Regions from separate parts of the Homo sapiens genome. Here all the other regions are linked to region 1. The links are contacts of gene promoters, found by promoter capture Hi-C in blood cells and fetal thymus (Javierre and others, 2016). All regions are on one chromosome and are shown on one strand. Each heading gives the region's core, a stretch centred on a gene start or on the middle of the fragment in contact. The rest is flanking DNA. Distances are from core to core; before and after follow the strand shown.

Region 1 (7,055 bases), core at 2,171-4,670:
CCGCCTCAGCCTCCCAAAGTGTTGGGATTACAGGCGTGAGCCACCGCGCCCAGCTGGCAATTGCACTTTTTTAAAATTCTGCACTCTAGGAGGCAGAGGTGGGCAGATCACTTGAGGTCAAGAGTTTGAGACCTTGGCCTGGAGTGGTGGCTCACACCTGTAATCCCAACACTTGGAGAGGCCGAGGCAGGTGGATCACCTGAGGTCAGAAGTTCGAGACCAGCCTGGCCAACATGATGGAACCCTGTCTCTACTAAAAAATACAAAAATTAGCTGGACGTGGAGGCAGGAGAATCGCTTGAATGCAGGAAGTGGAGGTCACAGTGAGCCAAGATTGCACCATTGTACTCCAGTCTGGGCGACAAGAGTGAAACACCGTCTCAAAAAAAAAAAAAAAAAAGAGTTTGAGACCAGCCTGGCCAACATGGTGAAACCCTGTGTCTATGAAAAAAAAAATTGGCTGGGCATGGTGGTGCACACCTGTAATTCCAGCTACTTGGGAGGCTGAGACAGGAGAACAGCTTGAACCCAGGAGGCGGAGGCTGCAGTGAGCCAAGATTGTGCCGCCACTGCACTTCAGCCTGGGCAACAGAGCAAGACTCCATCTCAAAAAAAAAAATCTGAAATACTTCAGGCATGCAAGTATTTAGCATTCAGTATTCATAATGTAAGAAAAACCTATGAAGCACAACCCAGTTTAAGTAACACAGGCAGGGCAGGGTGCAGTGCCTATAATCCCAGCACTTCGGGAGGCCAAGCTGGGAGAATCACTTGAGGTCAGGACTTCCAGGCCAGCCTGGGCAACACAGTGAGACCCTGTCTTTACAAAAAATTTAAAAAATAGGCCCAGTGCGGTGGATCATGCCTGTAATCCCAGCACTTTGGGAGGCCGAGGCGAGTGGATCATCAGGTCAGGAGATTGAGACCATCCTGGCTAACACGGTGAAACCCCATCTCTACTAAAAAAATACAAAAAATTAGCCGGTCATGGTGGCATCTGCTTGTAGTCCCAGCTACTCAGGAGGCTGAGGCAGGAGAATCACTTGAACCCGGGAGGCGGAGGTTGCAGTGAGCCAAGATCACACCATCGCACTCCAGCCTGGGCTACACAGCGAGACTCTGTCTCAAAAGAAAAAAAAAATTAAAAATAGCCAGGCATGGTGTGTGCACCTGTAATCCCAGCTACTTGGGAAGCTGAGGCAAGAGAATCACTTGAGCCCAGGAGTTTGACGTTATGATTATGCCACTGGACACCAGCCTTGGTGACAGAGAGAGGCCCTATCTCTAAAAAAGAAAAAAAAAAAAGTGGCCAGCCACGGTGGCTCCCGCCTGTAATCCCAGCACTTTGGGAGGCTGAGGTGGGTGGATTACCTGAGGTCAGGAGTGTGAGACCAGCCTGCCCAACATGGTGAAACCTGGTCTCTACTAAAAATACAAAAATATAGCCAGGCATGGTGGTGGCCGCCTGTAATCCCAGCTACTGAGGAGGCTGAGGCAGGAGAATCACTTGAACCTGGGAGGCAGAGGTTGCAGTGAGCCAAGATCACGCCACTGCACTTCAGCCTGGGTGACAAAGCGAGACTCCGTCTCAAAAAAAAAAAAAAAAAAAGTAACACAGGAAATAAAACCAAGACAAGATGAGCTCTCTGTGTCTCTGTGTGTCCCTCCCCAGACCCAACCCTGGCGTCCCCCAGAGGTAACCCCTCCCAGGAACTGGGCGTTTGCCACTCCCCTGCACGGGTCTACACCTCTGCTACAAACGTGTGTCCCTAAGCAGCGGACGCCTTTTGAAAACAAGTCAACTGTATCATGCTACGATATTTTTTCTGATGTTTGTGCTGTTTCTGAGACAGCCTTATGACACCTTCCCCTATTCTGTAGCATTCTGTTGGCTCACTTTGCCACAGTGTATGCACCCATTCTCCCACAAATGGACTTTTCATTTGCTTCTCAATGTTTGCTACCAAAAATCTCCCTGCAATAAATTTATTTTATATATCCCCTTGTATGTGTGTGAGGGTCCCCTAACTGCTCACAAATATCTCAGCAACTCCGCCCTCCCCACTCAGACCTCATTTCCCTCCTACCAGACATGCTCAAAGGAAACTGGGAGCAACACAAAGATGACTTTGAATCTCTGTCCACCACCCCTAGACTGTATGACACCCGCAAGTGACAACCTCCCCTCTCTGGCCTCGGTTTCCCCCTCTGTAAAATGGGGGATGGCCTACCTTGCCAGTCATGGCAGGTCAATATAAAACAACTTCTGGCTGTGCACAGTGGCACATGCCTGTAATCCCAGCACTTTGGGAAGCTGAGGCAGGAGGATTGCTTGAGGCCAGGAGTTCAAGACCAGCCTGGGCAATATAGCAAGATCCCATCCCTCTTAAAAAAAAAAAAGAAGAAAAATATATGTTGTTGTTGTTATTATTGTTATTATTAGAGACAGAGTTTCGCTTTTGTCACCCAGGCTGGAGTGCAATGGTGTGATCTCAGCTCACTGCAACCTCCACCTCCTGGGTTCAACTGATTCTCCTGCCTCAGCCTCCTGAGTAGCTGGAATAATAGGCATGTGCCACAACATCTGGCTAATTTTGTATTTTTAGTAGAGATGGGGTTTCGCCATGTTGGCCAGGCTGGTCTCAAACTCGACCTCAGGTGATTCTCCTGTCTCAGCCTCCCAAAGGGCTGGGATTACAGGCATAAGCCACCATAGCTGGCCTGTTTTTTTAAAAAAAGAATTCCAGTAAAGAGCTGATCATGGTTCTCACTCCTTGAATACCAGGAACACCATCTCGTATCACATAATGAGACAGGGAGACATTCTGGTCCTCATCTCACAGATGAAAAATGTCAAGCTTCGAAGGATCAAAGTGCCCACCTAGTCACACGGGTAGTCAGCCACAGGTCAGCCTGCCTTATTTATTCTTCATGAGTATTTATAGTGACTAACATTTACTGGGCGCCTACTGTGGGCCATTTCTGTGCATGTGACAACCCCTTTAAGTCCTTGTTTCTAATCCCAAGAAGCAAGGAAATGGGGTCAGGGAAGGGACAAGGTTTGCCCAAGTCCAGGCAGGGGGAGAGGTCAAGCTCAGAACCATCACCTGCCCATGACACATGCCCAGGACTCAGGTTCCCTAGGCTTCCTTCCAAAGGCTCAGCAGTGACGAGCCAGCCCTTGAACCAGCCTCTTCCCCCACCCAAGCAGCCACCTCTCAGGGGAATTGTGGCCACCACAGGTGCAGGGAGCAGTTTCTCTCCACTCACAGCCTGAAGCATACCCGGCAGGGGCTGTCCCCAGGCCCAACAAGCAAAGGGCCCAGTAGCGAGGGCCACTGGAGCCCATCTCCGGGGGGCTGGGCAGGAAGTAGGGTGGGGTTTGGGGTAGGGATCTGGTACCCTGGGACTGCTGCAACTCAAACTAACCAACCCACTGGGAGAAGATGCCTGGGGGTCCAGGAGTCCTCCAAGCTCTGCCTGCCACCATCTTCCTCCTCTTCCTGCTGTCTGCTGTCTACCTGGGTATGTGGCCAAAGGGCAGGAACTGGCGGGAGGTGGGGGAAGCTGTGGAGGCTGCAGAGAGGGCACAGGCAGAGGGAAGGGGGCTCAGGGAAAGGGGAAGAGGAGGCAGAGGATAGGGGACCCAGGGAAGATGCCTATAGAAATCGTATCTGTGCCAAGATGGGCCAAGGTGGGGCTGGAGGGAGCCCAGCGAAGGAGAAGGGGCGTCCACAGTCTCACACAGGGAGGCAGGAGCAAGAGTCACCTCCCCCACCTCCTGTTCCCCACAGGCCAAAATAAGGAACTAAAGTTGCTCTTGACTGAGCACCAGGGCTGGGGGCAGGAAGGGGACTTAGGGGTAGCAGCATTCAGCGTCTGTCAAGGGGAGAAAAAGCTTTCTCTGCCTTAAACCTCAGGTGCCTCTCTCTGTTGGGAGTCCCTTCTCAGCACTGGGGGAATGGGTGTCTCATGGACTCCCCCTCACCTGCTCAAGGACAGCTGGCAGGGGCTGTGGCCACGCTAACCCAGGAGTTCAGAGAAAAAGGTTCCCCACCCAAGGGGACACTGGGAGCAAGGATTGGAGTTCACGTCTGAGTCTTAAGCCCGTGACGATGAGGGTGCTCGGCCCCTCTCCCCATCTCTTCCTCCTTCTCTCTTCCTCACCTCCCTCCTCCACCTACCTCCAGAAGAGGGGACTGGCCATGTGGGAGGCCTGGCTGAGAGCTGGGGCTTCCCAGAGGAGCCCGGATTGGACACTGCAGCCAGCCTGAGCCGCCTCGTCTCACTCAGAGACACCCCCAGTCTCCACCCCGCTCTGAGCCCCTTCAATCACCAGCAGCCCAGCCCAAGGACTGAACTCACCCCTGACCCCTAGGTTGACACATACAACTTACAGAGAATGAGGGCCAGGCACAGGGTCACAGGCCAGGGCAGGCCACAGACTGGCTCCTCAGCCCAGGCAGGGAGAGGCCAGGGAGCCAAGAGTTTGAACCCAGTGCCACTCCTGACTGCCTGGTGATGCTGGCAACCCGCCTGCCCTCCCAGAGCCTCAGCCATCCCTCCTGTAAAATGGGGCTAAGGAGAGAACCTACTTCTAGGGTTCTGTGAATGATTACACAAGAAAAAGCGCCAGGTGCTGGGCCTGGCTGAGGCTGGGGTGCAAAAATGGACCGGGAAGGCTGCGGGAGGAGGGGACGCCTGCACTGCTTCTGGAAGGAGCTGTCTGGACAGCGGTCCTCCAGTGCCTGGAACAAACATCCAAAATCCAGAGAGTTCACAGGGCCAGAGTACAAAGTGGGTATGCGGGAGGGGGGCAAGAGATGGCGCTGCAGAGGTGAGAAGGGCCTCCCAGGGGTCTTACCATCCCAGGGAGTCTCATTCTCCTCTCCCAGGATATCCTCACCCACCCCAACCAGGTATGTCCTCTCTCCTTCCCAGGGGCTTCTTCACTTTCCCGCATCCCCCCTCTCCCCAGGATGTATCAGCCCCTGTCAGGGGCTCTCTCTCTCCCTCCCCACCCAGGAGAGTCCTCACCCTCTTCCCAGGAGTGCTGGAACTGCAGGGGCCAGGGCTGGGGAAATGTGTCACCATCCCCAGTCCCTGACCCACCCACCCTGTCTCTCCACAGGCCCTGGGTGCCAGGCCCTGTGGATGCACAAGGTCCCAGCATCATTGATGGTGAGCCTGGGGGAAGACGCCCACTTCCAATGCCCGCACAATAGCAGCAACAACGCCAACGTCACCTGGTGGCGCGTCCTCCATGGCAACTACACGTGGCCCCCTGAGTTCTTGGGCCCGGGCGAGGACCCCAATGGTACGCTGATCATCCAGAATGTGAACAAGAGCCATGGGGGCATATACGTGTGCCGGGTCCAGGAGGGCAACGAGTCATACCAGCAGTCCTGCGGCACCTACCTCCGCGTGCGCCGTGAGTGGCCCAGCCCTGGCCCCTACTCCCACTGTCCCGCTGGGGACACTCGGTTTATCTTTGAAGTGGGGATAGAGCCAGTACCTTCAATGTGGGTTTCAAACCGGCTTGGACAGAGGGACGGACATTCTCCTCTGCAGAGTGGGGTCTCTGGGGGGTCTGGGGCCTTGCAGGAGGTGGGCGGGGCCAGGAGGCTAGGGAGGGCAAGAGGGGCCAGGGCTCTGAGCCATACTACCTCCTTGCAGAGCCGCCCCCCAGGCCCTTCCTGGACATGGGGGAGGGCACCAAGAACCGAATCATCACAGCCGAGGGGATCATCCTCCTGTTCTGCGCGGTGGTGCCTGGGACGCTGCTGCTGTTCAGGGTGAGCCCCCTCGGACCTCTGAGTCAGCCGGGCGAGGGCCTGGGCCGAGGGACCCCCAATACCCAGGTAGCCCTCTAGAGCCTGAGGTTCCCCATCCAAAACTTGGGAGAATGAAAGCACCCACCATATAGGGGCTGTGGGAGTTAAATGAATGAATATAAAGAAGGGACTTGAACTGGCGCTGAGCCCAGGGGGTGTCTTCAATTTAGTTTCCCCTTCTGGGCTGTCCTCACGTCCACCTCCCCCCAAGAAGAGTCTCATTCTTCTCCCTAAGAGTGTCCTCACTCCCCTCCTGCCCTCACCCAGGAGTGTGGTTACCCTCCAGGTGTAGCCAAGACCAGGGAAGGTGGGGCCTGGTCCTCCCAGAATCTCTGATCTGTACCAGCCTCTCCTTAGGCACTACAGAAAGTGTGACTGTTATTGTTATTATTCATGGAGAATAGTAAGGGAGTGGAGACTCAAGAAGACGCTAGCTTGGGAGGCCGAGGCAAGAGGATCACTTGAGGCCACAAGTTTGAGACCAGCCTGGGCAACACAGCAAGACCCTATCTCTACACACACAAAGTCTTAAAAAAAAATTAGCCAGGCATGGTGGCACACACCTATAGTCCCAGCTACTCAGGAGGCTGAGGTGGGAGGATTGCTTGAGCCCAGGAGTTCAAGGCTGCAGTGAAATATGATGTTGCCACAGCACTTCAGCCTGGGCAACTGAGGGAGAAGAAAGAGAGAGAGAGAGAAAGAGAGAGAGAGAGAGAGAGAGAGAGAGAGGGCGAGAGGGAGGGAGGGAAGGAAGGGAAGGGAAGGAAGGAAGGAAGGAAGGAAGGAAGGAAGGAAGGAAGGAAGGAAGGAAGGAGAACACTGGTTGTAGACTCAGAGAGAACTGTTACATAACCAGTATGTGGCCTTGGGGACATCTCTTACCCTTTCTGGAAAAGTACTTCCTGGCATCCAGGAGGGTCTGAAAGATATTCACCTCCCCCTGCTCACTGAGGCACCCACCCCACCCACCCCTACAGAAACGATGGCAGAACGAGAAGCTCGGGTTGGATGCCGGGGATGAATATGAAGATGAAAACCTTTATGAAGTGAGTGAAGGGTGGGGATGGGGTAGGGGCAGTTGTGTTAGGGGTGGGGGTGTTCCCTCTGGGGGTGGCTGGGGGCAGGGACCCCAGGTGTCAGGGTGCTGATGTTCGCTGCCTCATTTCCATCCCAGGGCCTGAACCTGGACGACTGCTCCATGTATGAGGACATCTCCCGGGG
Region 2 (7,055 bases), core at 1,883-4,382, 440 kb after region 1:
CGCTCTCTCTCCCACTCTTCGATTTTCTGCTTTCCCATCTGTCTAAGTGATTCCTCCTCTCTTCACCATCCCGCAGCAGCTTTCTTTCTCCTCCCTCTGTCTCTCACTGTCTGTCACATTTGTGCTCAATATCGTGACTAAGAGTTCAGGAGTCACACAGACCTGGATTCCACACCAGCTCTCCCACTTCCTAGCTGCCTGACCTTGGGTGACGACCCCTGTCTCTGGGCCCATTTTCTTCTTGGAAAATTGGGAGGATCTTACCTACCCCATGGAGCCCCTCTAAGGCTTTCTATCGTCTGTATGGCTTTGGCCAAAGGGCTTCCCTCTTAGCCTTAGTTTCCTCTTCTGTGAGATGGAGCAGTAATAAGACCTACCTCGTTGAGTAGATGCTGATGGAAAAACTCACACATGAGAGGGGTTTAGCCCTGTGTTGAGCAAACAGTAACTGATTTATTCTCTTCCTGTCTTTTTCACCCTCTCTCTCTACCTCAATATGCTTCTGTCTCCGTGCCTGGCTCTCCTGTTGCTTGTGTTCTGACCGAGTACCTCTGTTCCCAAGTGCCCAGGGGTGGGGTCCGGGGACCCTAATAGAGGGGAGGAGGCCAGGCTGTGATGGACCCTCTCCTGCGGGTCTAGTTCTTTGACCCAGGCCAGGTACTGTACACGTATGAGTCGCCGGCCGGCTACGGGCTCATTGGACTGCAGGTGGCGGCCTACGTGTGGTTCTGCTATGCTGTGCTTGTCTCACTGCGACACTTTCCTGAGAAGCAGCCTTTTTATGTGCCCTTCTTTGCTGCCTATACCCTCTGGTGAGAATTGGTGGGCCCCAGCCTGTCCCTGCCTCCCTCTCGGGGCTCCCCAGAAGTGGTTGCCCCCCATCTCAGACCCTCCATAGTGAGGGAGATGGACTTTTCACTCAGGCAGCTGTTGCCCAGAATCTGCCACTTACTCACTTTGTGAAAAATTACTTTCACAAGAAGTGCATCAGGTTTACCCATAAAACAACAGGATCTCGCCAGGCGTGGTGGCTCACGCCTGTAATCCCAGCCCTTTGGGAGGCCGAGGTGGGCGTATCACAAGGTCAGGAGATTGAGACCATCCTGGCTAACATGGTGAAACCCCGTCTCTACTAAAAATACAAAAAAATTAGCCAGCCATGGCAGCATGCACCTGTAGTCCCAGCTGCTGGGGAGGCTGAGGCAGGAAAATGGCGTGAACCCAGGAGGCGGAGCTTGCAGTGAACCAAGATCGCACCACTGCACTCCAGCCTGGGCCACAGAGCAAGACTCCATCTCAAAAAAAAAAAAAAAAAACCAAACAGGATCTCCTCAGGCCGGGCGTGGTGGCTCACACCTGTAATCCCATCACTTTGGGAGGCCAAGGCGGGTGGATCACCTGAGGTCAGGAGTTCGAGACCAGCCTGATCAACATGGTGAAACCCCATCTCTACCAAAAAATAAAAAAATTAGCCGGGCATGCTGGTGGGCACCTGTAATCCCAGCTACTCAGGAGGCTGAGGCAGGAGAATTGCTTGAACCCGGGAGGCAGAGGTTGCAGTGAGCCGAGATCACATCATTGCATTCCAACCTGGGCAACAGAGCAAGACTTCATCTTCAAAAAAAAAAAAAAACAGGATCTCCTCAAAGGGATATCTTGAGCAAGCATAGGCCACTATATGAGGGCCGAGTGTCTGGCACATAGTAAATGTTCAGTAAAAAACTATTGTAGACTGGGTGCGCTGGCTCATGCCTGTACCCCCAGCACTTTGGGAGGCCAAGGTGGGTGGATCATTTGAGATCAGGAGTTCAAGACCAGCCTGGCCAACATGGTAAAACCCCGTCTTTACTAAAAATACAAAAAAATTAGCCAGGCATGGTGGTGCACGCCTGTACTGCCAGTTACTCGGGAAGCTGAAGCAGGAGAATAGCTTGAACCTGGGAGACTGAGGTTGCAGTGAGTTGAGATCGTGCCCCTGTACTCTAGCCTGGGCAACAGAGTGAGACTCCATCTCAAAAACAAACAAAAAACAACAACAACAAACAAAACAAAAAAACACCCAAAACTATTGTAATTATTATCGTTCACCATAACATAGCAATAAGGTTGGCAGATTCTGAGCCAGACTGTCCGGGTTCAGATCTCAGCTCTAAAGCTTATAGATGATGTGACCTCAGACGAGCCCATTAACTTCTCTCTGCCTCAGTTTCCTCACCTTTTAATGGGGATGGAAATTTTATCTGCTTCATAGAGTCACTGTGAGAGTTAAATGAGTTTATATACATCAAATGCTTAGAAACAGGCCTGGCATGCAATAAGTCCTTACTTCTTATTATCATTTGTTCATTCATTCGTCAAATATCTATTTTTTTTTGTTTGTTTGTTTTTTGTTTTTGAGACGGAGTCTTGCTCTGTCGCCCAGGCTGGAGTGCAGTGGCACGATCTCAGCTCACTGCAACCTCCGCCTCCTAAATTCAAGTGATTCTTCTGCCTCAGCCTCCCGAGTAGCTGGGACTACAGGCGCATGCCACCACACCCTGCTAATTTATGTATTTTTAGTAGAGATGTGGTTTCCACCATATTGGCCAGGCTGGTCTGGAACTCCTGACCTCAGGTGATCCACCTGCCTTGGCCTCCCAAAGTACTGGGATTACAGGCATAAGCCACTGTGCCCGGCCTGATTTCTTCTTTTTTTTTTTTTTTTTTTGAGATGGAGTTTCGCTCTTGTTGCCCAGGCTGGAGTGCAGTGGTACAATCTCCGCTCACTGCAGCCTCCGCCTCCCAGGTTCACGTGATTCCCCTGCTTCAGCCTTCCAAATAGCTGGGATTACAGGTGCATGCCACCACACCCAGCTAATTTTGTATTTTTAATAGAGACGGGGTGTCACCATGTTGGTCAGGCTGGTCTCGAACTCCCAACCTCAGGTGATCTGCCTGCCTTGGCCTCCCAAAGTGCTGGGATTATAGGCGTGAGCCACCGTGCCCGGGCTGTCTATTGATTTCTTATCAGATGCCAGGATTTGGGGTGGTGTGGAACTGAGTTAAATTGAACCTCCTTCTTGCCCCTCAGAATTTCCCAGTCCAGTCCTGCCCCATTTCAGTCTCTGGCTTCTGAAGGTCACACTGGCTTCCCTCCAGTTTGGGACCTGCCTGGGGTCTGCGTGTGTACATGGCAGGCGAGGTGGGGCTATAGGGTGGGGTGGAGGACAGGAGCAGTGTCTCTACTGACCCAATACTTCCCCTTCAGGTTCTTTGCGGTTCCTGTCATGGCCCTGATTGCCAATTTCGGCATCCCCAAGTGGGCCCGGGAGAAGATTGTCAATGGCATCCAGCTGGGGATCCACTTGTACGCCCATGGCGTGTTTCTGGTGAGGATGGGCATCTGTGGGGGGTGGAGGGGAGGACCCGAGGGCAGAAGATGTGTGAGGCTCCTACACCTGATCTGCTGGACCTCCTGTTCTGAGGTCTTGATCCATTTTCCTTTTAGTCATTCTCCCTTTATTGAGAGCCTGCTTGGTTCCTGCAGTCTCCTCTATTGTGCTCCTCAGAGTCCATTTTCTTCTCTTTTTTTTTTTCGAGACAGAGTCTCACTCTGTCTCCCAGGCTGGAGTGCAATGGCTTGATCTCGGCTCCCTGCAAACTCCGCCTCCCGGGTTCAAGTGATTCTTCTGCCTCAGCCTCCCGAGTAGCTGGGATTACAGGTGCCCACCACCACATGCAGCTAATTTTTTGTATTTTTAGTAAAGGCAGGGTTTCACCATGTTGGTCAGGCTAGTCTCAAACTCCTGACCTCAGGTGATCCACCCGTCTCAGCCTCCCAAAGTGCTGGGATTACAGGCATGGGCCACCTCGCCGGGCCCATGCCCATTTTCTTCTGTTCCCCTCTCCAACTTTGTGTCCTGGCTTCTTTCCTCAACCCCCATCCTCTCTCTTTGCCCTCCCTTCCCATTTCCATTCCTGACCCTGTGTCCCCAGATTCTTCCATTTCTCTTTTGTATCCCCACTGCCTTCCCCACCCTCCTTGATCTCTCCACTCTCCCCCTGCCCCTGCCCAAATTCTGCCATCACAGGCCACTGTTCAGGAAGAAGCATCTGGGGTGGCACAGGGTGAAGCTTTTGGGCTCCTGGGTCGGCAACAGGAGGGTACAGCACCACATCTTTTTTTTTTTTTTTTGAGACGGAGTCTCACTCTGTCACTAGGCTGGAGTGCAGTGGCGCGATCTTGGCTCACTGCAACCTCCACCTCCCAGGTTCTCCTGCCTCAGCCTCCGGAGTAGCTGGGACTACAGGAGCACGCCACCATGCCCGGTTAAGTGGTTTTTTTTTTTTTTTTTTTTTGAGACGGAGTCTTGCTCTGTTGCCCAGGCTGGAGTGCAGAGGTGCGATCTCGGCTCACTGCAACTTCTGCCTCCCAAGTTCATGCCATTCCCCTGCCTCAGCCTCCCTAGTAGCTGGGACTACAGGCGCCCACCACCACGCCTAGCAAATTTTTTTTGTATTTTTAGTAGAGACGGGGTTTCACTATGTTGGCCAGGATGGTCTCGATCTCCTGACCTCATGATCCGCCCGCCTCGGCCTCCCAAAGTGCTGGGATTACAGGAGTGAGCCACTGCGCCTGGCCCCCACCACGTCTATTCTTTGCCCTGGTTCACATCCTATCTGACATTCTTGGTGACAGTTCTAATATTCATTAATTTATTCATCAATTGTTCACTGGGCACCTGTCTTGAACCAGTCTGTTTCATTCTAGGAACATCCATATGCATTTACTCCTGCCCTCTTGTTTAATTGTCAGAGCAGCTCCAGGAGAGGGTGGATAATTGACATTGTTCCCACTACACAGAGCGGGGAAGCTAAGGCCCAGAGAGGAGAAGTGACGTGCCAGGGCTCCGTGGCCTTTGGCGGCAGGCAAATACTTTGAACCCTATCCTTCTCCAGCAGACCACAAGGTCTGAAATGAAGGGGAACCAGAAAGGGCAACAGGCATGACCCAGTGTCCCAGCTTCTGACTCCAGGGATCTACAACGTACCCCGTGTAGGGAGTGGGCCCAGCCACCGAGGGAGGGGACAGGTCCCCATCCTTTGCCTCAGAGGCTGACATAGGTACAGACTCGCTCACCTTCCCAGGCTGGTCTATCCTGAAGCTCTGCAGGAAGTCAGAAAGGGACAGAAAGAGGAGAAATGCTGAGAACCCATCATGTGCTGGGCTCTGCACCAGTGGTTTTCATTTCCACCCTCTCATCTTTCCAAGTAGGCGCTACAGTCCCTTTTCCCCACAGCGAGGCTCAGGGAGTTTAATCAACATGCCCCAGATCCCATACTCAGTGAGCTACAGATCCCAGAGGCGGGATGCAGGCTCAGAACGGCAAGCACAGCGCCCTTCCTGCTGTATCTCAGCCAGCTTCCTTCCTAAGGATGCTCACGTTAGCTCAGCACAGCTCCACCTGGGTATCTCAACGCTCATTGCTTTCAGCTCCTTGTTCATTTTTTTCAGCACAACCTTAGAAGAGCTGTGTTAGGTTTCCGGGATATGGCGGTGGAGTCACACCCAGTCCCTGCCTTCACAGCCTATCAGACTAACTGGTACCAGACATCCCTACATTCCACCAATATTTATTTATTTATTTATTTATTTTAAATTTTTTTTTTTTGAGATGGAATCTTCCTCTGTCGTCCAGGTTGGAGTGCAGTGGCATGATCTCGGCTCACTGCAACCTCTGCCTCCTGGGTTCAAGCAATTCTCCTGCCTTAGCCTCCCAAGTAGCTGGGATTACAGGCGCACCACCACACCTGGCTAATTTTTGTATTTTTAGTAGAGATGGAGTTTCACCATGTTGGCCATGCTGGTCTCAAACTCCTGACCTCAGGTGATCCGCCCGCCTCGGCCTCCCCAAGTGCTGGGATTACAGGCGTGAGCCATGGCGCCTTGCCCACCAATATTTACTGAAGGCTTATATGCGCCAGGCATGGTTCTAGAAGGTACTAGGGACTCAGTAGGGAACAGAAGAGTCTGGTTCCTGCCTCATCGAGACATTTTAGAGTCTATTAGTTGCTGTCCAATTGAACTTTCTGTATTTATGAAAATATCCTATTACCTGCACTTTCCAATATGGGAGCTACTAACCACATGTGGCTGTTGAGCACTTGAATGTGGGTAGTGCATAGTGAGTGTGTAGTGAGGAGTGTGACCAAAATTTAAATTTTATTTTGATTAAATTTAAGCTACATGCAGCCAGTGGCTATCATACAGTGCAGGACGCTGACCCTAAGCAATCAGTGACAGCTCAGTGATCAGGCCTCTGATGGAGGAAGCACAGGCCGAGTTTTGTTGAAGGGAAAAGGTGAGGGTCCAGGGCATTTGGAGAGCCCAGAGGGGACGCCTAATCCAGTGTGAATGGCTTCAGGGAAGTGTGGTGGATGTCAACTGAAAGGGAATCCTTCGGACCCCAAGTTTATGGGGACAGCCTCCGGCCTGACAGTGCCTCTCACACCTGCTCCTGGCCCTGGCCTCAGATCATGACCCGCCCATCAGCGGCCAACAAGAACTTCCCGTACCACGTGCGCACGTCGCAGATCGCTTCAGCCGGAGTCCCTGGACCCGGAGGGAGCCAATCCGCTGACAAGGCCTTCCCGCAGCACGTCTATGGGAACGTGACGTTTATCAGCGACTCGGTGCCCAACTTCACGGAGCTCTTCTCCATCCCCCCGCCCGCCACCTCCGTAAGCCCCGCGGCCCCAGCGCCCGAGGAGCTGCTGGCGCCGCCCCTGGAGTACCTGACCCCGCTCCCGGCCCCGCCGCCGCCCCCAGCGCCCGGACCCCTGAGCCCTCCTCCTGCCTTTCGCACTCCCCGCGCCCCAACACCGCGCCGCGACCGTCCCCTGGCGCCCGCGCCCACCCTGCCTGACTGGGTTCTGGCGCTGTTGCGCACACCCCCGCAGACTCCCTGCGCCGTGCCCCCACCGCCCGCCTTCCGCGGCTCTCCCCCAGCTCCCCGGCCGCCGCCGGAGTTCGCCCCGCGCGCCCCGACGCCGCCCTTTGAGTACCTGGCCCCGCT
Region 3 (7,055 bases), core at 1,737-4,236, 300 kb after region 1:
CAGAGACACAGAGACACACAGAAACAAATAGACACGGGGACACACAGAAAAGAGACAGAGAAGGGTGGGGAGCACAGGGGACTCAAAGGCAGGGAGAGGCCCTAAAAGCCAGAGACTCAAAGAGACACCCAGAGACAAAGAGGAAAAGGAGAAGGGAGAGGGCAGGAAGTATAGGGGACATGGAGGCAGAGAGATGTCCAGAGACACACAGAAATATAGAGACACAGGAACAGAGTGGGGGGAGAGGAGGGAGGAGGGAGCAGATGGGGACATAAAGGGGCACCAAGAACCACAGAGACACTCAGAGACAAAGAGATAAGGAGAAGAGGTCCATGCAGAGACAGAGATGCAGAGTCAGAAAGATAGCCACAGAGAAGTAGACACACAGAGACAGAGAGATAGTGAAAAAATATATATGGGGAGAGAAAGAGACTAATTCACAAAGACAGAGACACAGAAATAAGAGAGATAGATATGCACAAATCAGAGATAGGAGAAAGCTACACGCAAAGAGAGACAAATGAAGATGTAAGGCAGTGTTGCAGAGATACAGAGATAGGAAGACATAGAGACAGAGGCAGACACACACAGAGGTAAGAGATATAGACCTGCGGAAACAGACAGAGATTAAGAAAGAGCCGTTGAAAGAGCCGTTGAAAGAGACAGAGAAACAGAGATGGAGAGATGCAAAGCCAGAAAGACAGACATTGACAGAGACCAAAAGATACAGAGACTGAGACTGAGACAGAGAAAAAGGCACAGAGAGAGTCAAACAAGGAGACAGAGTCAAACAAGAAGGTGTAGACAGAAACACAGAGAAATATACATAGGGATTCTGAGAGAGAACCTAAGAAACAGAGACAGAAAGAAATGTGCAAAGAGAGAAACAGAGATCAAGACATAAAAAGAGATGAAAAGAAATACAGAGATGGTGAGAGAAAGAAAGCAAAGACAGAGACCCAGAGAGTCAAAGTGAGGCAGAGAAATGCAGAGACATGGACAGAGACTGCAAGAAAGTGACAGGAACAGAGAAACCTCAGGAGACACACAGAGAGACACAGTGAGATGGAGAAAGGCACTGGAAGAGGCTTTCAGTTGGACAGAGATCCACAGAGAGATGCGAGACAGAGACAAGAAGAGACAAATGGAGAGTCAGAAATAGAGAATGAGGTCTGGTAGACAAGGCTGGGGATGGGGGGCAGAGACAGAGCCCAGGTAAAGGAGGAAGGGACAGGCTGGGGTGAAAGCAGAAAGTAGGAAGGTGACAAGAGGGTCCAGGGAAGCACCAAGGGGGAAAGGGCAGACAGGAGGGGAGGGAAGAACAGCAGAAAGGAGAGGAGTGGGGAAGGGAGAGGAGGGGAAGAAAGAGAGGAGGGCAGTGCCCAGTCACCAAGCACCTCCCCTGTGCCAGGCACATTATGGCTTGGAGACAGGGAGGAAGGAAAGGAAGGCCAAGGGTGAAGGGGCTCCGACCAGGGGAAGGTGGGCACAGGGTCTTGGGAGGGTGCATGGCTCCCGCCCCCTGCAGGCGGGGGTGCAGTGGTGCAAAGAGGAGGATAGGGTTGCAAGTGGTACCCAGACCTGGGAGGGGGTGTGAGAGGGAGGGAACAGGAGGGGGAAGGCAGGGAGGGAAAGGGAGGAGGAGGAGGAGGACGCAGGCACGCGCTGCGCGGTCTTGGCTTAGCAGCTGCAACCGCCCTTCGCTTTGTTACCAGCAAGGCTACCCCATGCATACTGAGTGGACACGCGGGACCCTCATGTGTGTGTGAGAAACACGAGAATCACCAACTGCCCACGTGTATGGAGAACGCTCCCAAGACCTACACTGGAAGTGCGTAACATAAATAAATATAGGAAACACCTACCCCGTGGGCGTACAAAGTAAGTACCCAGGACCTGTGCAGCGTGTGCATAATAGACACAGAACTACCTACTACTCCCTGTACGGAGCAGCCTCCTGGGACCCGCACTGTGTGCGCAACACAAATAAATGCAAGGAATACTACCCTCTGTCCATACAAAGTAGGTATTTGGGTCTTATGCAGCAGATGCATAATGGACATGGGACCACTTAATACCCCCATACAGAGCAGACTCCTGGGATCCACACAGTGTGTTCACAACACAAATAAATACAGGAAACGCCCACTCCAACTGCACACAAACTAGGCACATGGGCCTACAGGGCATGAACATAGTGGACACGGAACCACCCCATAGCCACCTACCAACCAGCCTCCCTGGGACCCATACTGTGTGGGCACAACATAAATGAATGCAGGAAGTACCCTATCCCCCATGCCTACAAAGCTGGCACACCAACCTAATAGACTTAGCTAGTGTGAACATAAGAGACACCCATGAGCAGGTTCTGGTGATCCACAAAGGCACATAACAAAACTGAACATAAGAAACACCCACTCCGCTTGCATACAAAGGCACATGGGGTCCCAATAGTGAGGAGAGAACTCAAAAAAGGGTGTATATAATGACAACCCACACACTATCCATTCTGGAAGGAGCAACAAGGAATACTGGACCCTGCAATGAATCTACCCAGCAGACTCCCAGGTCCCTCCATCTGTACGTGTACAATAGACCTAGGAGGAGCTATGGACAGCCTGAGTACCTACTAGAAGGGAAGCAGGGACAGGGCAGAGACCAAGGATGTCCTGTTCCCTGCCTTGGCCCTGGCACCTACAAGGACCAGTACATGGGTGGGGTGGGGGGCGGTCATCCTTCCTAAGAATGACCAAGTACATAATAATTGTGTATACAGTGAGTATACACTAAGCACACAGCACCAATGTTTGTCTGTTTGTTTGTTTGTTTGTTTTGAGACAGGGTCTCCCTCTGTCACCCAGGCTGGAGTGCCGCAGCGTGATCATGGCTCACTGTAGCCTCAAACTCCTGGGCTCAAGCAATCCCCTCTTGCCTCAGCCTCCCAAGTAGCTGGGACTACAGGCATGCACCACCACACCCATCTATTTTTTTTTTTTTTAAGCAGAGATGAGGTCTCCATATGTTCCCCAGGCTAAAGCACCAATTTTAAGGATCCAAAAAACTTGGTTTGATATGTGCTAAGTCCATATCATATGCTTACTTGCCAGTATGTTAAGAGTCTGTGGTCCACAACCTATGCATGATTGGTATCTTAATTATCCAGAATATCCATATTAAGCAGAAGCTGACATCCCTCATGGACTTACAAAAGTCAGATCCAATAGGAGACTTAAGCAATCCGCACATGCAGGTTGTCCTAACTGATTTCTAGGGCTCCGCCCAGCCCCGAGTCATGATTCCACGAAGGCTGATGCAGCACATGTATACACACCAGGCACATGCAAAGACGTACACCATACACTGTACACAACACAGCAAAAACATGTGTGCTCTCTCTGCTTCTGAAATAGCATAATTCCAGAAGTACCAGATTCCTCTGAGGAATGTGTGTGTGTGCATGTCTGAGTGAGGGCCATCTCTGGGTACAGGTGTGCATGTACATGGCTCTTCCTGTACGAATGAGCTCAGCTCTTATTCCCTCCTCATTCTGCCTGTTCATCTTTCAGAAACATGTATACAAATAATAGTACCTGATGTATACTAAGTACAAAACATTGCAAGCTATGGATGACCTTAATTGAGTGTGTGCGTCTGAACATACATTTATTTATTTATTTATTTATTTATTTATTTAGAGACAGAGCCTTGCTTTGTCACTCAGGCTGGACTGCAGTGGCACAATCTCGGCTCTCTGCAACCTCTGCCTCCCGGGTTCAAGCTATTCTCCTGCCTCAGCCTCCCGAGTAGCTGGGATTACAGGCGCATGCCACCATGCCCAGCTAATTTTTGTATTTTTTAGTAGAGACGGGGTTTCACCATGTTGGTCAAGCTGGACTCAAACTCCTGACCTGGTGGTCCACCCACCTCGGCCTCCCAAAGTGCTGGGATTACAGGCGTGAGCCAACACTCCCGGCCTTGAACATACCTTTAGATAGATGCATTTGTTCATTAATGAAACATTTGTTCGCGCATCTGTGGCCATGTGTGTGCGTGTGTGTACATCTTGGTGTCTTGGTTACAAGTCTTGGGGCTCCCTTATAATCTCTGAGGATAAAGGGTGTAAGATAAGGGAAACGAAGGCACACAAAGCAGGAAGGGAAGAAACTGGGGAGAAGGAAAAAAGTGGTGCAAGGACAAGGAGCAAAAAGAAGAGACCTGTTATTCAGGAGGCTGAGGCACAAGAATCACTTGAACTCAGGAGGCAGAGGTTGCAGTAAGCCAAGATTGTTCCACTGCACTGCCCTGGGCGATAGAGCAAGACTCTGTCTCAAAAGAGAGAGAGAGAGAGAGAGAGAGAGAGAGAGAGAGAGACCTGGAACTGGAACTGGATGTATGGAAGGAAGGGAGGAGGCCCTGAGGACACAGGCAGAGGGAGATGTGGTGCGGGAGCAAGGAAGAGAACAAGGACAGGAGGAGAATGGGTGTGAGAGAAAAGAGGAAGCTAGGAGGAGGAAGGGAGGTGAATGGTGAGCAGAGCAGAGTGAGGGTATCAGGAAGAGTGAAGGGGACTGGGGAGAGGAGAAAGGAGATGGGAGAAGGAGATAAAGACCGAAGGGAAAGAAATAAGAAACAGACAGAGGCTTTTCTGGTCTGAATGAAATTTAGAGGTTGCCCCAGTGGCCTCCTATGGGAAGGTGTTCGAGTCGGAGGATGAAGGTGAAGCAAAAGAGAGAAAGGAAGAGGAATCACAACCTAGCTCCCTAGGATGGGGCAGCCAGCTGTCTCCATCATCCTAGAAGGGGCCCAGAGACAGGGACCCGGAGGCACAGACAGAGAGGTATGCAGAGCTGGACTGAGATGTGGAGTCATCTGAAGTGGGTAGGGTCCTGGGACAGGCAGGAGGAGGAGTGGAGAGACTTGCAGGCTCAGGGAGGCCAGGGCTCAGTGGTGTGGAGACTTCCAAAGACCAGGAGGAGGCTGGAGCAGGCAATGGAGCAGGGCCCTGAGACCACAAGCGGGGAATCGAAGACCAGGTAAAGGGAAGCAGGTTAGAGAAGGGCAGAGAAGTGAGGGCCTGCTGAGCAGAACCAGCCAAAGTAAATGGAGGAGCAGCTGGAGTGGGATGAAAAGGCCATGAGGCATCTTGCAGATGGGTCCTGCCTTATGCACACCCGGGTTCAGAAGCTCTCCCAGGCTGACTCTCCCCAAGCATTCAGTTTGGTTCCATTTAAGACATGCATACTGAATACTATCACGAATTAGCACTATGCTGTAAGCTGAAGAAACAAATGCAAATGAGACACAACTCTGCCCTCATAGAGACCCTCATCTGAAGTTGTTGGTGGGGGAGGGAATGAACAATAAATACACAGTTACTGATACACACAGCAACACAGAAGTACCTCAAAACCAAAGTGAGAGATGCAGAAGACCACACACTGTAGGATTCCATTTACATGAAATTCTAGACAGCAAAACTACTGTGACGGAAAAGCAAATGAGTGGTTGAAAAGGGCTGCAGTGGAAGGAGGGGACTGACAGCAAAGGCGCCGGAGGGAACTTTTTAGGGTAATGGAAATGTTTTGTAACATGATTGTGGTGGTGGTTACACAACTGTGTGTGTGTGTAAACTCATTAAACTGTACATTTACAACTGGTGAATTTTATTGCATGCAAATTATATCACAATAAAGCTGATTGCAAATAAATAAATAAATAATTACCAGCCAGAATATTCAAGACTCAAGATAGGGCTCTATGGGAGCCAAGAGGAGGTGGATGGGGCAGTGACGGAAGGCTTCTGAGAAGAGGTGATGCCTGAGATAAGACCTGAAGGATAAACAGGAGGCAGGATGGAGAAAGCGTTCCCATGGAAGAAGAGCTTTCACATGGAAGCAGGTGAGAACTGAAAAAAGTTCACTATGTTTTGAACACAGAATGGAGAGTAAGACTATCAAGAAGTGAGTGCAAAGAAAATCAGGGTTCAAAATACAAATCCATTGCTATTCGAAGTACCATGTTGAATAAAACCCACCTGCACCTGAAAAGGCCCAGAGAGAAGGAAACTATGAGACACGACTGGGGATTTTTTTTTTTTTTTTTTTTTTGAGACAGGGTCTCTCTCCTCCCTCTGTCATCCAGGCTGGAGTGCAGTGGCACAATCACAACTCACTGCCACCTCGACCTTCTCCTGCCTCAACCTCCTGAGTAGCTGGGACGACAGGCGTGCACCACCACAACCTGCTAATTTTTGTATTTTGTGGTAGAGACAGGTTTTTGCCATGTTGCACAGCCTGGTCTTGAACTCCTCGGCTTAAGCGATCTACTGGCCTTGATCTCCCAAAGTGCCAAGATTACAGGCATGAGCCACCGCTCTGGGCCAAGACTGGGGATTTCTAATTGGCCTCCTGTCTGCCCCACAGAAAGGTCTCCTTCCTGCCGCCCTTCCCAGAACTTCCTCCCTGCTCTTTTCACATGGGGATGTCTCTCTCCATTAGGAAGCAGCCTCTGCTCTGGACCTATCCCCCAACCCTGCCCACATCTCCAAGAGTTTGTGGGCCCCAGTGAATCCCTCCAACCTGGATTCCATGTGGCCACTGCCCCCTGGTGGCTGAAGTGATGCATGACTAAGGACGAAGGGACACCTCCAAGTCCAGGCCCAGCATGCCCTTCCAGAGGCCAGTCCAAGGCACTCCCACTACTGCCCCCCAAGACACACCCTTGTCCCTGACAGTCTCCTCCTTGCTAAATCCTACAAGCACTTTTCAGTCCTATCTGACTCTCCTCTGCAGCATGCAGCCACAAATATCTTTTCAAAATCCTCTTGGCATCTAAGAAACCTCACTCTCTTGGTTCTCCAGCTCTGTCTGGGCTGCTCTCCCAGGGTGAATCATCCCCTCCCACAACTGCTTTCTCTATGCTGGTAATCCCTAAATTTGTCTCCAGTTTAGCCCTCTCTCCTAAGCTTCACATCAGGATACCCAGCCACCTCCTAGAGGTTCCAAAAATACCTCAAAATCAACATGTCTAATCTAATCATGTCATCTTCTCTA
Region 4 (7,055 bases), core at 2,335-4,834, 260 kb after region 1:
GCTGGAATACCTCTGCAGCTCACAGTCCAACGCCCACAGCCTTCGAGTCAGTTTCTTGATATTCGGCAATGCACTGGACTCCTGATCCCATCAGCTCCTGGCTGAAGGTGGGCCAACCCTTCCCCATTTCCTTCAATTCAAACATTTCCTCATGTCCCTCAGTGCCAAGCCCTGTGCTGGGAGCTGAGGACCCAGAGGTGAGCTAGATCTAAAATCTGACCTCAAGGAGCTAACAGTCTGAGAGGAAGACTGGAGTGGATAAAAATACCTTGGTAATTTATCACTTAATAAATATCCAATAAATGCTATTATGTGCCAAGCCATTGCTAAGCTCAGAGAATACAGTGGTTAAAAGCAACCCATAGAGCTTATAGTCTTTGGGGGAGAAATAATTTTTAAAAGTTATCAACTAGCAGGGCATGGTGGCATACCCCTGTAGTCCTGGCTCCTCTGGAGGGTAAAGCAGGAGGATCACTTGAGCCCAGGAGTTCAAGGCTGCAATGAGCTATGATGGCACCACTGCTCTCCAGCCTGAGTGACAGAGCAAGACTCAATCTCTAAAATAAATAAATAAATAAATAAAATAAAAAATAAAAAGCCATCAAATAAATATGTAATTCTAAGTTAGGAAAAGTGATTTCAAGAATAGGTAGAGGAGGGGCTGGGCATGGTGGCTCACACCTGTAATCCTGGCGCTTTGAGAGGCTGAGGTGGGAGAGTTGCTTGACACCAGGAGTTTGAGACCTGTCTGGACAACATATCGAGACCCCATCTCTACAAAAAAAATTGTTTTAACTTAGCTGGGTGTGGTGGTGTGCGTCTGTAGTCCCAGCTACTCGAGAGGCTGAGGCGGGAAGATTGCTTGAGGTCGAGGCTGCAGTGAGCTACGATCATGCCACTGCACTCCAGCCTGGGTGACAGAGAGAGACCCTGACTCTTAAAAAAAGTAGAAGGAGGATACCTGATGTAAACAAAGGATGGCATGTTGCAGAAAACTGTCCCAAGGAAGTGACATTTACATAGCAATTAGACACAGTATTCTCGAGGCAAAGAATGTGAAGGAAGACACTCCAGGCAATGGGAACAGAGGAGGCGATGGCCCCATGGAAACAAACAGTGTGGCAATTCCAGGATCAGAAAGGAGGCCTATAGAGCTGGAGCAGAGTGAACAAAGAAGAGAAGATAGGAGACGAGGTGTGAGGTGGAGAGGCGGCCAGGGCCAGATCGCACAGGGCCTTGCAGGCCAAGGTAAGAATTTGGGACTTCAAGAACAGTGGGACACCTGAGAAGGTTTCAAGCAGGGGAGTGGCATGGTTCTATGAACACTTTTGTGACAATCCTGGCTGCTTTGGAGGCCGCAGTGAAGAACCAGAGGATGGAGTGTGGGGGTCAGCGTGAGGAAGCTGATGAATTCCACATCACCATCAGGTGATGATGACAGGAAGCAATAATTGGTGATTGGCTGAATGTGGGGCATGGGAGTCACGGAGAAGTCAAGAATGAGGTCCAGGTATGTTAAAGTATCTTTCCTGGCACAGAAGATTGGGGCAGGTGGAAGAGCTTAAGCTCAGGTAAGAAAGATCAGGGTAGGACCTGAGGTCCTGAAGGATGAAAGGAAGGGCAGGAGGTGGGAAACAGCATTCAAGGGGGTTGCCAAGGTTGAAGACCCCAAGGTGGAGACAAACTTGGCTTTCCCAAGTTTGTCCTCAAGTTCCTTTGAGGTTGGATTTGAAGTTGCAGGTGGAAGGCTTCTGCGCAGAAGCATTCTGTGTAAGGAAGTTCTACTGGGGACAAATGTGGGGACCGGCTGGTAGCATGGAATCTGGAGACAGGATGACCAATGGGGAGGCTGGGACAGTGGTCCAAGGCGGCAGGGGAGAAAGGAGCCATGAGGATTAGGATGAGGATACATATTCAAGCTGGAGTCTACAGGAACAGGATATGAGAAGTGGGTGCTGGGCTGGGGTGGCTGGGTGGATGCGAGGCCATCACTGAAAGACACAGTGAGAAGGGAAGCAGGGGGAAGACACTTGGGTCAGTTCCAGGGGGAAAGTCAGGAAGCAGCATCTTCCAAGAAGCAAGGTCTGTGGACCAGAAGTCAGCAGATGCTTAACAAATTCACATGGATACAAACATTCCTCATCATATCTCCCCACCACAGCCAATTTTCCACATCCACCAGAATTCCCAGTTCGCCTCATGTAAGAAAAGAAGCACTGTGATGTGGCTCAAAGAAGATAAAAGAAGACTAACTGGCCGGGTGTGGTGGCTCACACCTGTAATCCCAGCACTTTGCAAGGTCGACGAGGGCGGATCACCTGAGGTCAGGAGTTCAAGACCAGCCTGGCCAACATACAATAAAACCCCATCTCTACTGAAAAATACAAAAATTAGCTGGGCATGGTGGCGCACGCCTGTAGTCCCAGCTACTTGAGAAACTGAGGCAGGAAAATCGCTTGAACCCAGGAGGCGGAGGTTGCAGTGAGCTGAGATCACACCACTCTACTTCAGCCTGGGTGACAGAGCGAGACTGTCTCTGAAAAACAAACCAACAAATAAAAGAAGACCAACCAGTCCCTGTTCTGAAATTCGCCCTCTAGTGACCTAGGGCCAGCCCCCTGAACTCCCTGGACCTCAGTTTCCCCAGATATATGTCTGAGATGGGCTGGAGAAGCACTCTAAGACTTCTTCCAGCTTGAACATTCTTTTATTTTATTTTACTTTATTTGGCTCACTGCAACCTCCACCTCCTGGGTTCAAGTGATTCTCTTGCCTCAGTCTCCTGAGTAGCTGGGGCTACAACCATGCGCCACCATGCCCAGCTAATTTTTGTATTTTTAGTAGAAATAGGGTTTCACCATGTTGGCCAGGCTGATCTCAAACTCCTGCCCTCAAGTGATCCACCCACCTCAGCCTCCCAAAGTGCTGGAATTACAGGCATGAGCCACTGTGGCCCGGCCCCAGCTCTAACATTCTGTAGCTTGAAAGAAACAAGAACGGGTGAGATGGACTGACGGCTCAACTGGCCATTGACAAATAGGGAGGTAAAGCATGGCCAACCTACTCTAAAGAGGCCCTGGCTGGGTATACTCGGCAACCCACTTACTCCTCACTGTCATCTTATGAGGGAGAGACCATTATCATCCTCACTTTAAAGATGAGGAAGCTGAGGCCCACAGTCACACAATGAGGCTGGAGTGAACCCAGAGGCTTGTTGACCCCAAAGCTTGTGCTTCAGCTGTTTTGTTGAGCTCACTGCTCCTCAACCTGGCTTGTGTGAGTCTCATTCAGACTGCAGATCCCCCAGGAACAGGGTCCCTTGGCATCCACTGCCATGTGCTCACCAGGGTCTCTGAATGACCTGTGGGAGCAGGCGCCTGGCCCTGGGTCTTCCTCAATGAGGCTCTGCCCTTGGCCCAGGAGTCCCTAGCCCCCTTGCTGCTGCCCCCAGGCTTTCCACAGCCCACATGCGCACTTCCTGTTCTCTAGCTCCCACTGGGCGCAGCACCAACTCTGCAGGCTCAGAGGCCGCCGCTGTCATCCCAGCGCAGGGAGCTGTCCAAAGGCTGAAAAGCAAGAGCCCATGGCCTTGGTCCAGAGCCCTCCAGTCCTGCTGCCCCCAGGACAAACCCAGTCCCCTTACTGTGGCCTCCAGGGCCCTACAGGACCTCCCCGCTGGCCACAGGAGTACCACACCTCAGCCACACTGGAGGAAGCTAATTTTGTCCCCAACATGGGGCCTTCAACCTTGCCAGCCCCCTTGAATGCTGTTCCCCACCTCCTCCCCTTCCTCTCATCCTTCAAGACTCCACTCAAAGGCCACTCCTCAGAGAAACCCTCCCTAGTCATGCTCCACTCCATTCCCAGTTTTATTTCCTTCAGAGCACTCTGAAATTCAATTGCCGCCTATTTGCTTTACTGTCTCTTTCACCCTCTAAAATGTAAGCTTTCTGAAGACAGGTGTCCTTTTCTGTCTTGTTCACTGTGGTATTCTTGGTGCTTTAACAGTGCCTGGCATATAGTTGATGCTTGAACCTTACTTGTTGAATGAATAAATCCTTCCAGGCACCCATGGTCCACAGAATAAAATCCAAGGCTGGCTCTCCAAACCCAAGTGGATATGGTGCCTCTCAACCTCCTCAGCTATCTCACCCTCAGAGCTCACCTTTCTCCTCTGTTCAATAACTTGGGCTCCCCTATGTGTCCCATCCCTCATGCCTGCTTTGTCTGCCACAAATTCTGTACACACCAGCCTCTGCTCAAATATCCTCTCTCTGGAAGCCTTCCCTGACCTCAGTCTTGCCACAGCTCCAGGTAGTATCCCCGGGCTTTAGCACTAATTGTACTGCACTGAATCACTTCCCAATGAGGCTGTACCTACAGACTGTGAGCTCCTTGAGAAGAGGGCTCAGTTTGACATGTTCTTGTAGACTCAGCACCCAGCACTGGGCCTGCATTTAGCTGAGGCTCCAGGAATGTTTGTTGGGTAAGGACAACTGCCCTGCAGATGGTTAACCATCTATACAGGTGAACATAATGACTAGTTTGGTAGTCAATCAGATGAGGGTTTGGAATCTGGTTCCTCCATTCATTTGCTGTGTGACCCTGGGCAGGTGACTTCTCTCTCTAAGCCTCAAGCTCCTCATCTGTGAAATGGGGGCAGTAAAATTGGCTGACAGGAACTTAATTAATCTTTTTTTTTTTTTTTTTTTTTTTTTGAGAAGGAGTCTTGCTCTCGTTGCCCAGGCTGGAGTGCAATGGCACAATCTTGGCTCACTACAACCTCTGCCTCCTGTGTTCAAGCGATTCTCCTGCCTCAGCCTCCCGAGTAGCTGGGATTACAGGCATGCACCACCACACCTGGCTAATTTTGTATTTTAGTAGAGACGGGGTTTCTCCATGTTGGTCAGGCTGGTCTCGAACTCCCAACCTCAAGTGATCCACCTGCCTTGGCCTCCCAAAGTGCTGGGATTACAGGCAAGAGCCACCACGCCTGGCCAGGAACTTAATTAATCTTAAATTTAATATTTGCTACCATGCCCTAAGAACAAACATGTTCACTAACTACATCAAGATTTGAGGTTGAGAAAAATAAGAAACAGTCTAGATGCCACCGATAGGACAGTGGCTAAGTAAATTATAATACATTCATACTCAGGAATACTATGCAGTTATGAAAGAGAATGAGACTGATCTATGGATTGCGGACATGAAAAGTTCTCCAAGACACTGTTAAGTGAAAAAGCAAGTTGCAGAACAATTTATACAACTTGATATCATTGATGTAAAACACATACATCTATTTTTAAAAACTGTATCTTTTCTATGGGCGTACAAGTATTAAGCAAATGCAGAAAAAATGGTCTGGAAGGTAACTAATTATAACCTCTTTTGTAGTAACTTCAGTTTTGGTTTGTTTGTTTGTTTTGAGATAGAGTCTCACTCTGTCACCCAGGCTGGAGTGCAGTGGTGTGATCTTGGCTCACTGCAACCTCTGCCTCCCGGGTTCAAGGGATTCTCCTGCCTCAGCCTCCCGAGTAGCTGGGATTACAGGCACGTGCCACCACACCAGGCTAATTTTTTGTATTTTCAGTAGAGATGGGGTTTCACCGTGTTAGCCAAGATAGTCTTAATCTCCTGACCTTGTGATCCTCCTGCCTGGGCCTCCCAAAGTGCTGGGATTACAGGCATGAGCCACTGTGCCCGGCCAGCACTTTAGTTTTAATAATGAGATTGTACTTGTTTTTTGGTGGGGGTTTGGGGTTTGGGGGGTTTTTTATTTGTTTTTGTTTTTGTTTTTGAGACAGGGTCGTCTCACTCTGTCAACCAGGCTGGAGTACAGTGGTGCAATCTCAGCTCACTGCAACTGCCACCCCCCAGCAAGCAATCCTCCTACCTCAGCCTCCTGAGTAGCTGGGACCAAAGGCACATGCTACCACACCCAGCTAAGTTTTGTACTTTTTGGTAGAGACAGGATTTCAACATGTTGCATGGGCTGGTCTTGAACTCCCGGGCTCAAGCGATCCTCCCTCCTCAGTCTCCCTACATGCTGGGGTTATAGTCATGAGCCACTGTGCCTGGCCTGTACTCATTTTTTTAATTAAAATTAGAACATATTAAATGATACACATGCAGAAAATCAAATAAATGATTATCCCAAAAGTGAGAATTGTAGTTACCTCCAGCAGAGAGGAAGGAGTATGTTTGGAAAGGGACACACGGGGTGGGGCTTCTGGGTGCCTTTGACATCTCCACCCAAGTGGTGAATGCACAGATGTTCACTCGATCAAGATTCATTAAACTGGCCAGGGGTGGTGGTTCACACCTGTAATCTCAGCACTTTGGGAGACTGAGGCTGGGTCACTTGAGGCCAGGAGTTTGAGACCAGCCTGGCCAACATGGTGAAATCCTGTCTCTGCTAAAAATACAAAAAATTAGCTGGGTGTGGTAGTGCATGCTTGTAATCCCAGCTACTCAGGAGGCTAAGGCTTGAACCTGGGGGCTGAGGTTGCAGTGAGCCGAGATCAAGCTGCTGCACTCCACCCTGGGCAAAAGAGCAAGACTCTGCCTCAAAAAAAAAGAAAAAATTCATTAAACTGTACATTAACGTCTTGTCCAATGACTGTGTGCTTCCTGTGGGCAGGGGCCAATCATTGCAATATCATCTGTTTCCCCATCCCCATTTCACTGCCCAGAAACAGACTTAATATAAGTTGTGTGCTCAGTAGGGAGTGCCCATCACGGCAAGCGCTCAGGAGGGCCAAGGCCGCTGTCCAGGGTACTAACGACCCAAGCCTGGGAGGCCACAGAGAAGGCCAGCAAAGCGAGCCAGCTTCAAGATGCCTCATTCTGAAGGGCCCCTGCCCACCTCAACTCCTCTCTCCCCACCCCCTTCACTCACTTCCTCCAAGCTGTCTGCCTTTCTGTTCCTGCAATCCACGCCCGCGCTTCTTCTTGCCTCAGGACTTTTGCTCTTGCCCTTCCTCCTGCCCAGTGCAGTCCTTCCCCAGGTGTTCCTAAGGCTCGTCCCCTTACTTACTCCAGAATTACACTTA

The links. Contacts are between HindIII fragments. The CHiCAGO score rates a contact against its expected background, and 5 or more counts as called.
Region 2: a fragment that was not itself captured here is called in contact with the fragment with the promoter of CD79A in region 1 in 1 of 17 cell types (erythroblasts); the score reaches 5.2 in erythroblasts.
Region 3: a contact is called between a fragment that was not itself captured here and the fragment with the promoter of CD79A in region 1, in 2 of 17 cell types (total B cells and non-activated CD4 T cells). The highest score is 5.9, in total B cells.
Region 4: a contact is called between a fragment that was not itself captured here and the fragment with the promoter of CD79A in region 1, in 1 of 17 cell types (fetal thymus). The highest score is 5.9, in fetal thymus.

What each region holds. Positions count from the first base shown.
Region 1 is chr19:41,873,859-41,880,913 of GRCh38, forward strand. CD79A (CD79a molecule) reads left to right here and starts at 3,421. Exons shown (of 5, transcript NM_001783.4): 1 at 3,421-3,525; 2 at 5,132-5,431; 3 at 5,677-5,795; 4 at 6,812-6,880; 5 at 7,009-7,055. The coding sequence starts at 3,447. RefSeq lists an enhancer at 2,086-2,155 and a silencer at 3,563-3,622. The HindIII fragment of the contact is 1,040 bases long and covers 2,857-3,896 here.
Region 2 is chr19:42,317,070-42,324,124 of GRCh38, forward strand. It overlaps TMEM145 (transmembrane protein 145), which reads left to right. Exons shown (of 15, transcript NM_173633.3): 12 at 640-812; 13 at 3,248-3,368; 14 at 6,514-6,720. Among named protein-coding and RNA genes, the nearest start is that of MEGF8, 5.0 kb to the right of the region's middle. The HindIII fragment of the contact is 1,958 bases long and covers 2,154-4,111 here.
Region 3 is chr19:42,177,908-42,184,962 of GRCh38, forward strand. It overlaps a transcript of POU2F2 not described here. Among named protein-coding and RNA genes, the nearest start is that of POU2F2-AS2, 29 kb to the left of the region's middle. The HindIII fragment of the contact is 7,957 bases long and covers 1-6,965 here.
Region 4 is chr19:42,136,781-42,143,835 of GRCh38, forward strand. It overlaps LNROP (long non-coding regulator of POU2F2), which reads left to right. Exons shown (of 3, transcript NR_038332.1): 3 at 1-319. It also overlaps a transcript of POU2F2 not described here. Among named protein-coding and RNA genes, the nearest start is that of MIR4323, 6.8 kb to the left of the region's middle. RefSeq lists an enhancer at 2,957-3,458 and a silencer at 3,357-3,651. The HindIII fragment of the contact is 720 bases long and covers 3,225-3,944 here.